3 separate regions of the Homo sapiens genome follow, and regions 1 and 3 are each linked to region 2. The links are contacts of gene promoters, found by promoter capture Hi-C in blood cells and fetal thymus (Javierre and others, 2016). All regions are on one chromosome and are shown on one strand. The core of a region is centred on a gene start or on the middle of the fragment in contact, and the rest is flanking DNA. Distances in the headings are between cores, read along the strand shown. Region 1 holds the start of GABBR2 (gamma-aminobutyric acid type B receptor subunit 2). Region 2 holds the start of NANS (N-acetylneuraminate synthase). Region 3 holds the start of GALNT12 (polypeptide N-acetylgalactosaminyltransferase 12).

Evidence for each region. Contacts are between HindIII fragments. The CHiCAGO score rates a contact against its expected background, and 5 or more counts as called.
Region 1: the fragment with the promoter of GABBR2 here is called in contact with the fragment with the promoter of NANS in region 2 in 1 of 17 cell types (endothelial precursors); the score reaches 6.8 in endothelial precursors.
Region 3: the fragment with the promoter of GALNT12 here is called in contact with the fragment with the promoter of NANS in region 2 in 9 of 17 cell types (M0 macrophages, fetal thymus, total B cells and 6 more); the score reaches 10.1 in M0 macrophages.

What each region holds. Positions count from the first base shown.
Region 1 is chr9:98,706,670-98,711,154 of GRCh38, reverse strand. GABBR2 (gamma-aminobutyric acid type B receptor subunit 2) reads left to right here and starts at 2,220. Exons shown (of 19, transcript NM_005458.8): 1 at 2,220-2,738. The coding sequence starts at 2,418. RefSeq lists enhancers at 834-1,128, 2,881-3,451, 4,023-4,485. The HindIII fragment of the contact is 8,458 bases long and covers 1-4,485 here.
Region 2 is chr9:98,054,871-98,059,056 of GRCh38, reverse strand. NANS (N-acetylneuraminate synthase) reads right to left here and starts at 2,325. Exons shown (of 6, transcript NM_018946.4): 1 at 2,117-2,325. The coding sequence starts at 2,248. It also overlaps a transcript of TRIM14 not described here. RefSeq lists enhancers at 1,607-1,726, 2,767-2,816 and silencers at 1,977-2,146, 2,227-2,576. The HindIII fragment of the contact is 20,554 bases long and covers 1-4,186 here.
Region 3 is chr9:98,805,364-98,810,048 of GRCh38, reverse strand. It overlaps GALNT12 (polypeptide N-acetylgalactosaminyltransferase 12), which reads right to left and starts at 2,379. Exons shown (of 10, transcript NM_024642.5): 1 at 1,980-2,379. The coding sequence starts at 2,350. It overlaps LOC124902229 (a long non-coding RNA gene), which reads left to right and starts at 2,469. Exons shown (of 2, transcript XR_007061689.1): 1 at 2,469-3,278. RefSeq lists silencers at 2,238-2,307, 2,408-2,497. The HindIII fragment of the contact is 2,789 bases long and covers 622-3,410 here.

The DNA.
Region 1 (4,485 bases), core at 971-3,470, 650 kb before region 2:
GCCCCCTGGGTCAGGGCAGATCCCAGGTCATGCGTCTTGGGGCCAGGTCACCCCACCATAAAAGAAGACAGAGGGGCTGTAGGGCAGGATGCCAGGTAGGGCCTTCAACCCCTTAGTAAATGTCAGGCAAAGTTACCCAGCTTTCAACTTATTCCCAGATGTAGGTGTCAGTGGACACTCTATATTGGCACAGCTTGCAAGGAGGACACAAATGACTAAAGGAAAGAATTAGAAAAAAGAAAAAAACCAAGTGAAAATGTTCATTCAGAAACCTGAGCTAAGGGTTTGAGGAATGGCAGGTGCCAGAAGACTATGACTGGAGGATATTTGTGATGTCAAGTGAGACAGCAGTTGAGCGAGTATCTGGGGATTACACTGTCCTTTGGACCATTTCTTTCCCTCCCTCCCTTCCTTCCTCCCTTCCTGGAGGAGATGCTCAGGTGAGTTCTGTTCATGCAAACCCTCCAGCTTGGGGAAAAGGAAATGCCAAGTGGAGCCGGGAGAGGTGGAGTCTATAGAAGCCTGGAAAGAGAAGTTAGGGCAGAGAGAATTTGGCCTGGTTTCCCTGGCGCTGTCCAAGGTACTCTCTAGTAGTTCTGCTCAGCCTCCACTCACATCTTTGTGCTTCCTAACAACTCAGCCTGGATTCAGAGCTGCCCTTGCCTCACTCCAGTAGAGCTGGTGTGTGGCCATCATCATCATCATCCGGTCCAAATCCCTCACCATATGCCGGAGGGAATCGATGTCCAGAGCAACTGAGTCAGGGCAGTGCTCCTCCTGGAGAGGAAACTTGCAGTCCCACATCCCTGGCTCCCACTGCACTGTGCACGGAGTTCCTGCTGGCTCTGGGTTCCGGTCCTTCAGTAGCTCTGTGTGCTTCCACTAGCTACAGAACCTCTCTGAGCACCAGTGTATTCGCCTGTAAAGTAAGGGTGAGTAACACAGTATGCTTACAGGGCAGTTGTGGGGATTACATCATAAGGCACACAGTAAGTACTCAGCGAAGGTCAAACTTCCATTCTTGTTACAAGGTCGTCGATATCTTCCACAGTCCCTGGTTCAGGCTCAAGTATGTTTTGTGATTTGATGTCCTACTGTGTTCCTCGCATTAATCAGCCCCTGGGACTTTATAGATTAATGATCACGTTTCCTATTCTTGAAGTATGCAGAGGCACAAGGAACCCAAGGTCTTAGGTCAGCTCACTCGGGTACATCTGGCTCGGGACTGCTTTGGCTAAGATTGGCCAGTGCGACCTGGCAGAGAGAGGGCCAAGTCCAGGGGCGCGCGGCCCCGCCCTGGCCTGAGGATAGTGCTCCCACCCCGGGAGACTTCTAGGGCGGGGCCCATCAAGAATGGGGACGCGGGGAGGTCAAATGCCTGGAGGGGGCGGTAGCGCACGTAAGGTTGGGACCCCAGCTTTGCTTGGGGTTGGCAAAGGGCGGTCGCTCCGTCTGGTGGGGAGGAAAGGGGTGTCCTCAGCCAAGGCCCTAAAGGCCGGGCAGCCTGGCACCAACGGGCGTTCGAGCACCCGTGGGCGTCTTCAGCGACCCCCGGGACTCGGTCAGGGGCTCGTGGGCGCCAGAAAAGAACGGGAGAGCGTAGGCTGCAGATGCCTCTGGGACGCCTTCGTGGAACATTCTCCTGCCCAGACCTTCCCGGCCAGACCTCCGAGAAGCGGTTCCAAACCACCGTGCAGGTGCTACAGGCAGCGCTCGGCGGAGCGGCGGCGGCCACTGCGTGTGCCAGCGCGCGGTCCCGGTTCCCAGATCGCTGTCCCCGGGCGCTCTGGTGCCTGGAGGTCAGCGGTCGGCGGGCAGCGGCAGCTGGCGCAGCGGAGGGCCGGGGGCGCGTGTGTGCGTGTGCTGGGAAGGTGGCCCTCCCCGCGGCCGCCGCAGCGCCAGCGCCTCCCCCTCCCCCGGCGCGCACGGCTCGTCCCCGTCCCTGGAGGCGGCCCGAGCCGCCCCTGAGCAGCCTCGCCTTCGCCTCCCGCGTTTCCTGCCGTCCGCCCTCCCCCGGCCGAGCTCCAGGGGCTGCCGCCTAGCAGCTCCCGGCGGGAGAGCGGTTCAGAGCGCGCACGGGGGCGGGCGGAGGCGGCCCGGTGCGGGGCGGCCGCGCTGGAGAGAGGCGCGCGCGGAGACGCCGGCCCCCCTCTCCGCGTTTGCTCGCTTGCTCCCCGCCTCCCGCACTCCGCTCGCTCCCACCCCTTCCCGGCGTGATTGATCCGTCACGGGCGCCGCCGCTGCCGCCGCCGCCGCCGCGGCCGTTCTGAGCCGAGCCGGAACCCTAGCCCGAGACGGAGCCGGGGCCCGGGCCGGCGCCATTGCGCGGGCGCCGCGGGAAGACCTTGGCGCGGGGCGGCGGGCCGGGCCAGGCCATGCGGGCCGAGTGAGCCGGCGCCCGCAGCCCGCGGCGCGGCATGGCTTCCCCGCGGAGCTCCGGGCAGCCCGGGCCGCCGCCGCCGCCGCCACCGCCGCCCGCGCGCCTGCTACTGCTACTGCTGCTGCCGCTGCTGCTGCCTCTGGCGCCCGGGGCCTGGGGCTGGGCGCGGGGCGCCCCCCGGCCGCCGCCCAGCAGCCCGCCGCTCTCCATCATGGGCCTCATGCCGCTCACCAAGGAGGTGGCCAAGGGCAGCATCGGGCGCGGTGTGCTCCCCGCCGTGGAACTGGCCATCGAGCAGATCCGCAACGAGTCACTCCTGCGCCCCTACTTCCTCGACCTGCGGCTCTATGACACGGAGGTGAGTGTCCGGCTGCCCCTGCCGTCGGGGCTTCGGGGGGCATTGGGGTGGGTGGTTTGGACACAGGCAACCTCCGGCCTTTGGTCAGATCCCCGATTGACCGGCCCGCGCCTGCCGAGGGCAGAGAGGGCTGGTGCCCAGTGTTCACCCCCGCGGTCCTGCTGGGCTTGGCTGGCACAGCTGGTAACATTTGCCAAGCACCCCCTCCTCTGGTCTTATGTGTGTATGTGTGTGTGGGGAGGGGTGGGGGTGGGATAGAAGACTGGGGTCTCTTTTGACCAGAGAAAAAGGAGTGGAGAAGGTGGGGGCTGGACCCCCAAAGGCCTACATTGATTGTCCCTGTCCAGGTCCCGCTCATGGGGCTGCGAGGTACCGAGTGGGAGGAACAGGCGCATTGACTGCAAACTGGGCCACCCAGGGCCGGAGGGGCCGCGGGCCTGCTCACAGGCCCCCAGGGAAGCCGAGCCGCGCTTTGAGGTCCGGAAGGCTCCGGAACCCAAGGGGCTTGAGCGTGCAGCGTGGCTGGGCGCCTGGTGCGCGCCAGCAGCTCTGAGCCCGCTCCGCGCGGGCAAGTGTGGGGCCACCGGCTCTGCAGCGCTTCTGCCTGGACGTGCCCGGCGCTGCCTGTGGCCAGAGCGATTTCAGGAGACCCCTGCCTCGGGTTAGTTGCTCAGAAAGTGCCCTGGCAGTTCTCGTCCCGGACGTGCAGTGGTGTCCGGCCGCGCCGCTGCTGTTGGCCGGGCGGCTGCAGGCAGTTTCTCACGGCTCAGGCTTGAAGCATCCGACCTAGCAGCCGGAGCACAGACTTGGAGAGCAGTCCGGAGCGGAGCCAGAGAGCCAAGGGCTTTCCATCCCAAGACCCCTCCCCACGCCCTCGGTTTGGGTTCTGCCTGAAGCCCCAGAGCGGACCTTCACCGCCAGGCCGGGGCTGGAGCGCGCGGAGCGGGTCTGGAGGAGCGATCGCTGGCCGCGCAAGGTCGGGTTTGCGAGTTTTTCCGGACCGAGCGAGCCCCTGTGCTCCGACCGCAGCGTCTGAGACGCGGCCTGAAGGGGGCAGTGATTTCCTGTGCAGTACGCTCGGTTGGCGCCTCTTCCATCGCGCGGAACGGGGCCGAGGCGCTGGGCTTGATCCTGGCTTCCTGGGACTCTCCGGGCGCTTCTGCTGGAGTCCAGGTGCAGAACCCTTTTGGGAGGAGGGTCGCGCTACTGCTCTGGTGGTGCAATCTGGGCTTCCCCTCCTCCTTGGTCGGACCCTCTTTATGTCCCCAGAGAAAGAGCAGAATCTAGATTGTATCTTATTCCCTGCCTCCCCCGCTTCACCGGTGAACCAGCTTGCTCTGCGCTGTAAATAAAAGGTGAAGGAACCGGTGGCAGTTGGCAGCGGTACGCGCAGGCTGCTGCAGGCGGAGAGGCGTCCTCTGCCCCAGAGGATGCAAGCTGGCTGGCTGTGCAGGGCTAACCCGGTGTGAAATCATTTCCGAATGACATTCCTATCGCCCTCGTCTTTGCCTGAGCATCTCAAGTTCTGTGGGGGTACTTGTCTGGCACACATAAATGGAGACAGCAATGCAGTTACACGGAGGCATATCTTCTTGACAGTTTCTCTGTTGCTACTGCACATATTCTTCTGGAGGGGTCACTGCAAAGCCGGTCTTTTGGGGACAAACACATTTTTAGATAGGGCAGCCCTGCTTGCATCATCACCAAGTATTGTCAGCTGCATAATGTTTTCATCATCAGTTTCTTC
Region 2 (4,186 bases), core at 1,076-3,575:
GCGAGACTCCGTCTTGAAAAAAAAAAATAAAAACTTCTTGGGTCCAGAAATGTCAGTGCTGAGATCACTACTCCTGCTCTTAGACAAATCATAAGATGGTAGAGTCAGGACTTGATGCTGGAAAGTTCAAAGAACATTAGAACTGAAAGTGACCTTGGGCAACAGAGCTCTCATTGTCTAGATGAAGATCCCAAGGCCCAGACTGACCTGACTAAAGTTGCACAGTGTCTCTAGCAGAGCTGGCCAGATCCCTTTCCTAAAGGCTGCAGCCACCTAGATTCCAGCTCAATGGAATTAGAGACAGGGTCTCGCTATGTGGCCCAGGCTGGTCTCGAATTCCTGAGCTCAAGCAATCTGCCTTCCTCAGCCTCCCAAAGTGATGGGATTACAGGAATCAGCCACTGCACCTGGTCAGTACAGCTTTGTTTCTATGGCTTCAGTATCTCTAGATATTTCTACAACTTCGGCATTCCAAGAGGAAAAACAGACTGCTCCTTCAAATTAAGAGTGGGAATTTCCCTCTAGAAAACAATGTTGCAGAAGAAAGGCTGGAGTCCTGTGGCTTAGGAGCAAAAACTGAAAAAACCCCTTACTGTATTTATTATACTAGCTATGTGACCTTGCCTAAGTCACTTATTTTCTCTTAGCCTTTAAAATGAAATCGGCAGCATCATGGCATTGGGTTGTTGTAAAAATTAAATGAGATGGTGCATGTACAGCATTTAGCTTAGTACCTGGTAGAGTAAGCACTCAAAAAATGTTAGCAATGTTATTTTTGTAAAGTATTTTTATGATTCAGTGATTAGGTTTCCATAAAACCAGTCCCGAAGGAACAGCAAGGGCCGAGGGTGGTGGCTCACACCTGTAATCCCAGCACTTTCGGAGGCCAAGGTGGGCAGATTGCTTGAGCTCAGGAGTTCGAGACCAGCCTGGGTAACATGGCCAAACCCCATCTCTACAAAAAAATTAGCCCAGCATGGTGGTTCACGCCTGTGGGTCCCAGCTACTCGGGAGGCTGAGGTGGGAGAATCACTTAAGCCTGGGAGGCAGAGGTTGCAGTGAGCCGGGATCATGCCACTGCACTCCAGCCTGGGTGATACAGAGACCCTGTCTCAAAAAAAAAAAAAAAAAAAACCAGGAAAAAAAAAAAAAAACAGTAAGAGAAAACCTCCAGCCTGGGTGACAGAGCAAGACCCTGTCTCTAACATAGATAAATAAATAAATAAACATTTAAAAAACCTATCACAAATGATACAAAATCAGTTGAGTAGCATTGATGAAGGGAAAGGAAAGATGGGGTGAGCTATCTCTAAACCAAAGAATCATAGTGCAGGCCAGGCCTTATGCTGGGGGCTGGGGTCGTAATGAAGAATATGGCAGTCCCAACAGAAGAGGGAGCACGCATTTACCGACTCATGTGTGCCAAGTGCTGGGCTCAGAGCTCTATCTGAGAATCTCATTTGATCCCCATAACAACTCCATGTGGAAAGAACTGTTGTTTTCAAGCCCCGTTTTCAAATGGGGAAAAGGGTTCACGGAGGCTAAGTAAGCAGCCCATGTTCACACAGCTAGTAGTGGTGGAACTGAGATTTGAACTCAAAGGCCCGGCTTTTAACCACTTCATATTTCATATACAGGGAATGGCGGGTGAGAGAGACCACAGCAACTTCCAGGAACTGTCATTCCTGAAAGTAACTCTGTGTCGCTGAAGAATGTCAGAGAAGAATTATGACGGGCTGGAAGGGGCCCAGTCATTAAAATCTTGAAGGCTATGTTAAAGGGTTTCGACTCTACCCGCGGGCAGGAGGGAGCCACAGAAGGTGCCAGGCAGGGGGGATGGTCTGATCAAGTCTGACTTTTAGAAAGATTATTCTGGCACCAGAACGGGGAGGAAACAGGTCGGGTTAGGAGGCAGCTGCTGTAATGCAGAAAGGTCACGAGGGTGGCGGACACGGTGAGGAAGAGGGATCCGAAGGATTCCGAAAACGGAACTGGCGGGCGGGAAGAGGCCGGACCAGGGTACCCAGCCGCGGAGGCCGTGTGGCCCTGGCTCCCCGCGGCCCCGCCCCGCCCCTCCCGGCGCCCGAATCCCGGGTCCCGGGAGCTGCCGCCTCACCTTGGCCATGCGGATCATGCGCTTGGCTACGTCCAGGTCGCCCTGGTGGTTCTGGCCGATCTCGGCAATGATGAAGCACGGGTGTTGCCCGCCCACCCAGCGCCCGGGACACAGCTCCAGCTCCAGCGGCATTGCAGCGGCTCGGGGTCCAAAGCCTCACTACCAGTCTGGGTCCGGCCGCCGCCGCCGCCGCCTCTACTCTGTTCTGTGAGCAACGCTGCGAGACCCACACGCCAGCCCCGCCACGTCAGCCCGCGGTCGCCGGGCAGCCAATCCCCTAGGCCCCGCCTCTCTCCCGACAGCCAATCGGGGCGGGGGGCGGGGGCGGGGCCTCCCGCGGGAAGGGCGGCGGGGCGGGTCGAGGAAGCTCCGCGGCCCTCTCCTGTGCGAGGCTTGAGGCTTGCTGTCCCAGAGCGTGGTCTCGGACCATCGCGGTATCCGTGCGTGCACCCAGGAGCAAGCATTCCCTGCAGGAGGCGGACGGCTGCCTGCGCAGGGCATAGTCTATGTCCTGCTCTCAGGAGCATGGGGAGAGCGCGCCCTATGGTGTAATGGAAAAAACAGGGTTGCTAGAGTTAGAATCACAGAGCTGGATCGAGTCCAGCCTATGCCAGTCACCAGCTCCTGCTCATATATACGTTACTCAGTCTTCCGGAGCGTTATTTTTGTTTCTCTCTGAAGCAAAAAAATAAAATAGAACTGTGAGATGACGTATAGAAACCCCTGATCACAATACTTGGCTTGTAGTAAGTTTTCAAGAAGTGGCGGAGGTTCCTATTATATGAGAGGCAACAGGTTCGAGAAGTTGCACTGGCTTGTCCAAAGCCATCCAGAAAGCCAAAGCAGAGATGGGACTAGTACCCGGACCTCCCAGCCCCAGGCTCTTAAAATACAATCACCTGGGCGGGCGCGGTGGCTCACACCTGTAATCCCAGCACTTTGGGAGGCCAAGGCAGGCAGATCACCTGAGGTCAGGAGTTCGAGACCAGCCTGACCAATATGGAGAAACCCCGTCTCTACTAAAAATACAAAAAAATTAGCCGGGCGTGGTGGTGCGTGCCTGTAATCCCAGCTACTCGAGAGGCTGAGGCAGGAGAATCGCTTGAACCCGGGAGGTGGAGGTTGCAGTGAGCCCAGATCACACCACTGCACTCCAGCCTGGTGACACTGCAAGACTCTGTCTCAAAAATAAATAAATTAATTAATTAATTTAAAAAATAAGATAAGTTATTTCCCAAAATAAACCTCCTTCTTTCCTGGGAACTAGACTGCCTTTGTAGGACTAACAAATTAGCCACAAGATTAGACACGTAGGAGTCATGCACCTGGAGGCTACAAGATTCTGACCCTCCCCAAATTGCTCCTGGGGATAACATCACTATTGTAAAACCTAAGACCAGTGCTTGAGATATTTTGCAGACCCTGCACTTGATGGATCAGCTGGCACCACCAGATTGATAAACTGGTTCATCTGATCTTGTGTCCCCCAACCAGGAACTGACTTGGCACAAGAAGACAGCCTTGACTTTCTATGATTTTATCTCCAACACAACCAATCAGCACTCCTGGCATACTGGCCTCTCTTAACCCACCACATTATCCTTAAAAACTCTGATCTCCAAGGTGGGGCATAGTGGCTCACACCTGTAATCCTAGCACTTTGGGAGGCTGAGGCGGGTGGATCACCTGAGGTCAGGAGTTCGAGACCAGCCTTGCCAACATGGTGAAACCCTGTCTCTACTAAAAATACAAAATGAGCCAGGTATGGTGGTGCATGCCTGTAATCCCAACTACTTGGGAGGCTGAGGTAGGAGAATCGCTTAAACCTGGGAGGCGGAGGTTGCAGTGAGCTGAGATTGTGCCATTGCACTCCAGCCTGGGCAACAAGAGCGAAACTCCATTTCAAAAACAAACAAACAAAAACCCCAAAAACCTCTGATCCCTGAATGCTAGGGGAAATTGATGTGAGTAATAATAAAACTCAGCCAGACTGCACAGCTGGCTCTGCATGAATTACTCTCTCTATTGCAATTCCCCTATTTTGATAAATCAGCTGTGTAGGTAGTGGGC
Region 3 (4,685 bases), core at 1,130-3,629, 750 kb before region 2:
AGACCCACACAGCTCAGGCTCACCTTTCTCTCTGGCTGGGTAAGAATAACCCAACAGGCCTTGCTGCAGGAATTAGAAGCAGGAGGCATTCACACTCCTTATCATGCTGGGTTTGGCTTAACTTCCAGGGTCAATGCAACAGCAGGATCTACAAGCAAATCCTGAGAGGACACAGGGCAGCTGCGTCACCATGGAGACAGGTTACCATAAGCCCCACAGATTGTCCACAGTGTTTCAAAGAGATATTCACAACCTGCGACAATAAAGGAAGTTGGATCCAGGAAAGAAAAACTACAACCAATCCCTGGATGACTCTCAAAAGCAACCTCTTGAGTACATTCTTGGCAACAGGGAAAGGTGAAAAAACTAAGATTTAAGCACACAGTGTGCTCCCAGGTATTGATGCTTTATTAATTCCTAAGTTGTGTTCTTTCCACTCACTTTTATGTAGAATGCATGGAGACTCACTTTTATGAGTTTCCTATTTCGCAAACGAAGGGAAACCAAGGCTCTGAGAGGCTAAGCAGCTTGCCAGAGATCACAGAAGTGACGAGCAAAAGAACCAGGATTTTATCTCCCCTGGGCTGGATTTAATCTGAAGCTGGGTATAACCTGAAAGCTTCCCCTCCACCTTGCCTCAGCGGGCACCCTCGGGGTTTCGAGGAGCTAAACATGCGTTAGGCTGGTGAGTGGAGGAACTACTATCAATCCCAACAAAGTTTTATTCAAAAAGACTAACAGTGAAAAATGCCTCAGGCAGAAGCATGAGGCTAGGCATGAGGAGATCCCCAAAACAGGGAAGACAGTGGAAACAGTGGGGCAGAGGTGGGGCATCCTCATTCCATCATTCATGGTCTCTCTGGCCAAGGTACCATGGAGCAGGCCCCTAAAATCCTGAGATCAGCATGGTGCCAAGTGGGCCAGAAGGGCCATAGTCCCTCCAGACCAGTCCTACCACATTCCAGCTGAGGGGCCTTGGGTGGGTCACCTATCCTTTCCGAACCTATTTCCACACCTGTAAAGCAGGAATGGCTTGAAGGGGAGAGGAGTGGCAGGTGCCTGGTGCACACGGCAGGCTGCCACCACCAGCTCCAATGGGAACCCCCTCTCTGAGTCCTCTTTTCCTCAAAGTCTGTAAGGAAGGGGCTCAAAAAAGGACTTGGAAGATCCCTGACACTTCGAAGAAAAAGTGAGAGCCCGGGAGGCCCAGCGGCAAAGGTGGCAGCAGCCACCTGTCCTTCCTCCTGCTGCCAGCGTGTGCCCTGGATCCCCACCTAGGCAGGGGCGCAACCTGCCCAGCCAGTAGCTCCAACAGGAACTAGGCCTCTGACCACGCTGGCTCCAGTCCAGCACCACCCACAGGAGTGAGCTGGGGTGGATCACGGCCAGAAGGAGCCCTTCCCACCCCGTGCCCCTTCCCGCCTTCCTCCACCCAAAGCTCAGAAATCCAATGCCCAGGGAGAGCACAAGGAGGCTTTCTAGCGCTGAGGGGGCCTTACAGCCATCTTTCGCTTCACCTGTGGGGCGCTCCCTCGCATCTTGTTTGTCCCTTAGGCCCTGGCACACACAGAGAATGAATGGAGCCGGTCACCGCCCGGAGGAGTTGTCAGTTTCGCGGAGGCACTGCGAGGCGGGCAGAGCGGGGTTGTCCTTTGGGTGCTGGGGGGTCCTCGCCTTAAACCCTTCTGCTTAGCCCTGACCCTCACCTTTTCAGGGAGATGATAACTTCTCAAGGAGAAGGGAGCTAAGAGATCACTAACAGACTTGCCAATTTCTGGTAATTTTTTTTCTACTTTCGTCTTTTTTACTTTCTTGCCTCCCCGCCCCCATGTGAGCTCTTACACTATCGTCTTCGGAGAAAGACTCAATAAGACGCGCCATCCTGGAGACCCCAGCTCCCCGCCCTGCCACTGCTCTGATGGAGAAACTGAGGCCCGGGGCTCTGAGGGCGGGCTTCCTCCCCAGAGCTGTGCACTCACAGCGGGTTCCAGCGCTCGGGCAGGCGGCGGTGCAGTGAGATGCGGTCGCTGAGGTAGATGTTAATCTGGTGCAGCCGCACGCTCTCCTCCTGCAGCCGCAGCTCCTCGCCCTGCAGCTGCAGCCGCACCGCCTCGCCCCGCGCGCCCAGCGCGTTCGCCGGCACCGGCGGCCGCGGCATGACCGGCTCGCGCCGCCCGGGGCGCGGGGTGCGCGGGGGTCCCGGCTCGGCAGCCCCGGCCCCGGCCCCACGCTGCGCCCGCAGCACCGAGCCCAGCCCGGCCAACGCCAGTAGCGCCAGGAGCACCAACAGCGCCTCCCGGCCGCGCCGCAGTTCCCGCGGGCAGCGCCGCCGCGCCGTGCGCCCCCACATGCGCCCGCCAACTGCAGCCAGCGATCTGCGCGCCCCAAGGCGGCGGTGGAGGCCAGGACCCGGATCCCGGAACCGCCGTGCCGCCCCGCCCCCGGCCCGCCCCACCTGCGCGCCGCCCCCTTTCCGTCCAGCCCCGCGCCAGCCCAAGCGCAGCCCCCGGGGTGGCTCATTTCGGCAGGGTCTTCAAGTGGGCTGGCTGAGACTTGCATCTTCCTTCTTGGGCTATGGTGCATTATTAAAGAGATAGTGGTGGTAAAACCCTTAGCGCCTGGCATATTGTAGGCGCTAAGTGTTGGCTGAATACACCCTGCAGGGTGTTATGAATTCTACTGCCATTATCTCATCTGATCTTTACACAGTCCAATAAAACAACCATCAACTAGGATTACGAGCTCCCTTTTACAGATGAGGAGATGGAGGTGCGATGAGATCAACAGACACCACGCTGCCCCACTGACTTCTGCAGGCCCAGCCTCTGCCATACTCTTTGGAGTCCTTGAATAGCAAACCCTCGCCTGGCTCGCCTCGTGATAGCTCTGTGACCTCTGAGGCTAGGAGCAAAAGGCCATGAAGGCTGTACATGATAGTTCACACCTGTAATCCCAGGCCGAGATAGGAGGATCACTTGAAGCCAGGAGCTTAAAACGAGACTGGTCAACATAGCAAGACTCCCATCTCTACAGAAAAATTTCAGAATTAGCCATGCATGGTGGCACGTGCCTATAGTGCCAGCTACTCAGGATGCTGAAGCAGGAGGATTGTGTGAGCCCAGGAATTGGAGGTTACCGTGAACTATGCGCCACTGCGCTGCAGCCTGGATGACAAAGCGAGATCCTGTTTCTATTAAACAACAACCAAAAAAGGCCATGAAGCTGCCGCCCTGTTCATGAGATCACTGCTGTGGGAGCCTTGAGCTGCCAGGGACGAAGTAAGTCTAATGGAGTAGACAAATATTAAAAAGATAATTAGAATTGTGTTAAGTATTTTGAAGAAGAATTACAGGGCGCTAAAAGGGCTTAGAATAGTAGAACTTGATCTAGTTTGGGGGTTTTGGAAAGCTTCTCTGATGAAGTAATGTCTACACAGATATCTGAATGTAAAAGTGATAGCAGAGATTTCAAATCATATCTTAAATTAATCTGGAACTCCCTCTGCTGGTGTCTAGCTCAGGGAAAAGAATCATTCTGTATCCCCTGTAGAAGGATAGAGTGTAAGCTCTATTTGTTGTTGTTTGTTTTACCATGGGAAGTTGGTCCAAAGCTTTTTATCAAATATTCTCAAGGAGACCAGAAGCCCAGAAAGTTTAAAAAGCACAAATCTGGTCCAATTATCTCATTGATAAATGCGGGGTCTGAGACACAGGGTGGGGAGAGGACCTTGAACTTGGCGGCTCAGGTAGAGGTAGAATCTGACTTGCTGTTGTCTTCATACAGCCTTTGGCTACTGGTATCCCCAGAGGAAATCTCCCTCAGGTTGCAGGAGGGGGGTGGGTTTTGGGATGAACCATGCAAAGCAGCTCCCACTCAGGACAACCTGCTGCTAATATTAGACTAGAGGGAAGTGGCTCTTCCCACAGTGCTCAGGGCCCCGCCTGCTTCCCACGCAGAATGGAGGCTGCTGGTTAATGCCAGAAGGCGGTTGTGTTAGGTAGGTCTGGACCTGAGCCCTTTGGCCTCTGTTCAGACACCCAACACATTTAAGATCTGCGGTCAGATTAGAAAACAGACAAGGATTACAATTCATAATGTCTTGGATCCGCTTGCCAAATTGGAATGCTTCTCAATAGAGGTTCAGATACAGAGAAAAGAGAAATGCAATTAGGCCTTACAAGACATGGACTTAAGCCCCAGGTAACAGATAAAAGCTATTGTTTACTGAGCACACACTGTGTGCTGTAAACTGCTGGACTTTCTTTTTCATGTACTTTCTCATTTCACCCTATGACAACCTTGCAAGGTTGACAGATGAGAATATGTAGGCTCAAGAAGTGAAGCAACTTGCCCAAGGTTACACAACATGCAAGCGGTAGAGGGAGGATTTGTATCTGGGTCTCCTGACTCACAGTCCAGGATTTCCCACCACACCACTCACTGTTGGGCAGGCTGCAATGAGATGCAAAGGCAGCTTAGCTTAGGAGGTCGGAACACAACCTTGGAGCCCACTTGCCTGAGCTCAACCCAGCCCCATCACGAATTGCAGTGTGACCTCAGGCAAGTTGCTTTACTTATCTCGGCTCAATTTGCTCATCTATTAAATGGTGATCTAATGATAGCACCACCTGAACAGGGTTGTTGAGAAGATTGAGTGATACAGTCTGCACAGTCAGCCTCCCGGG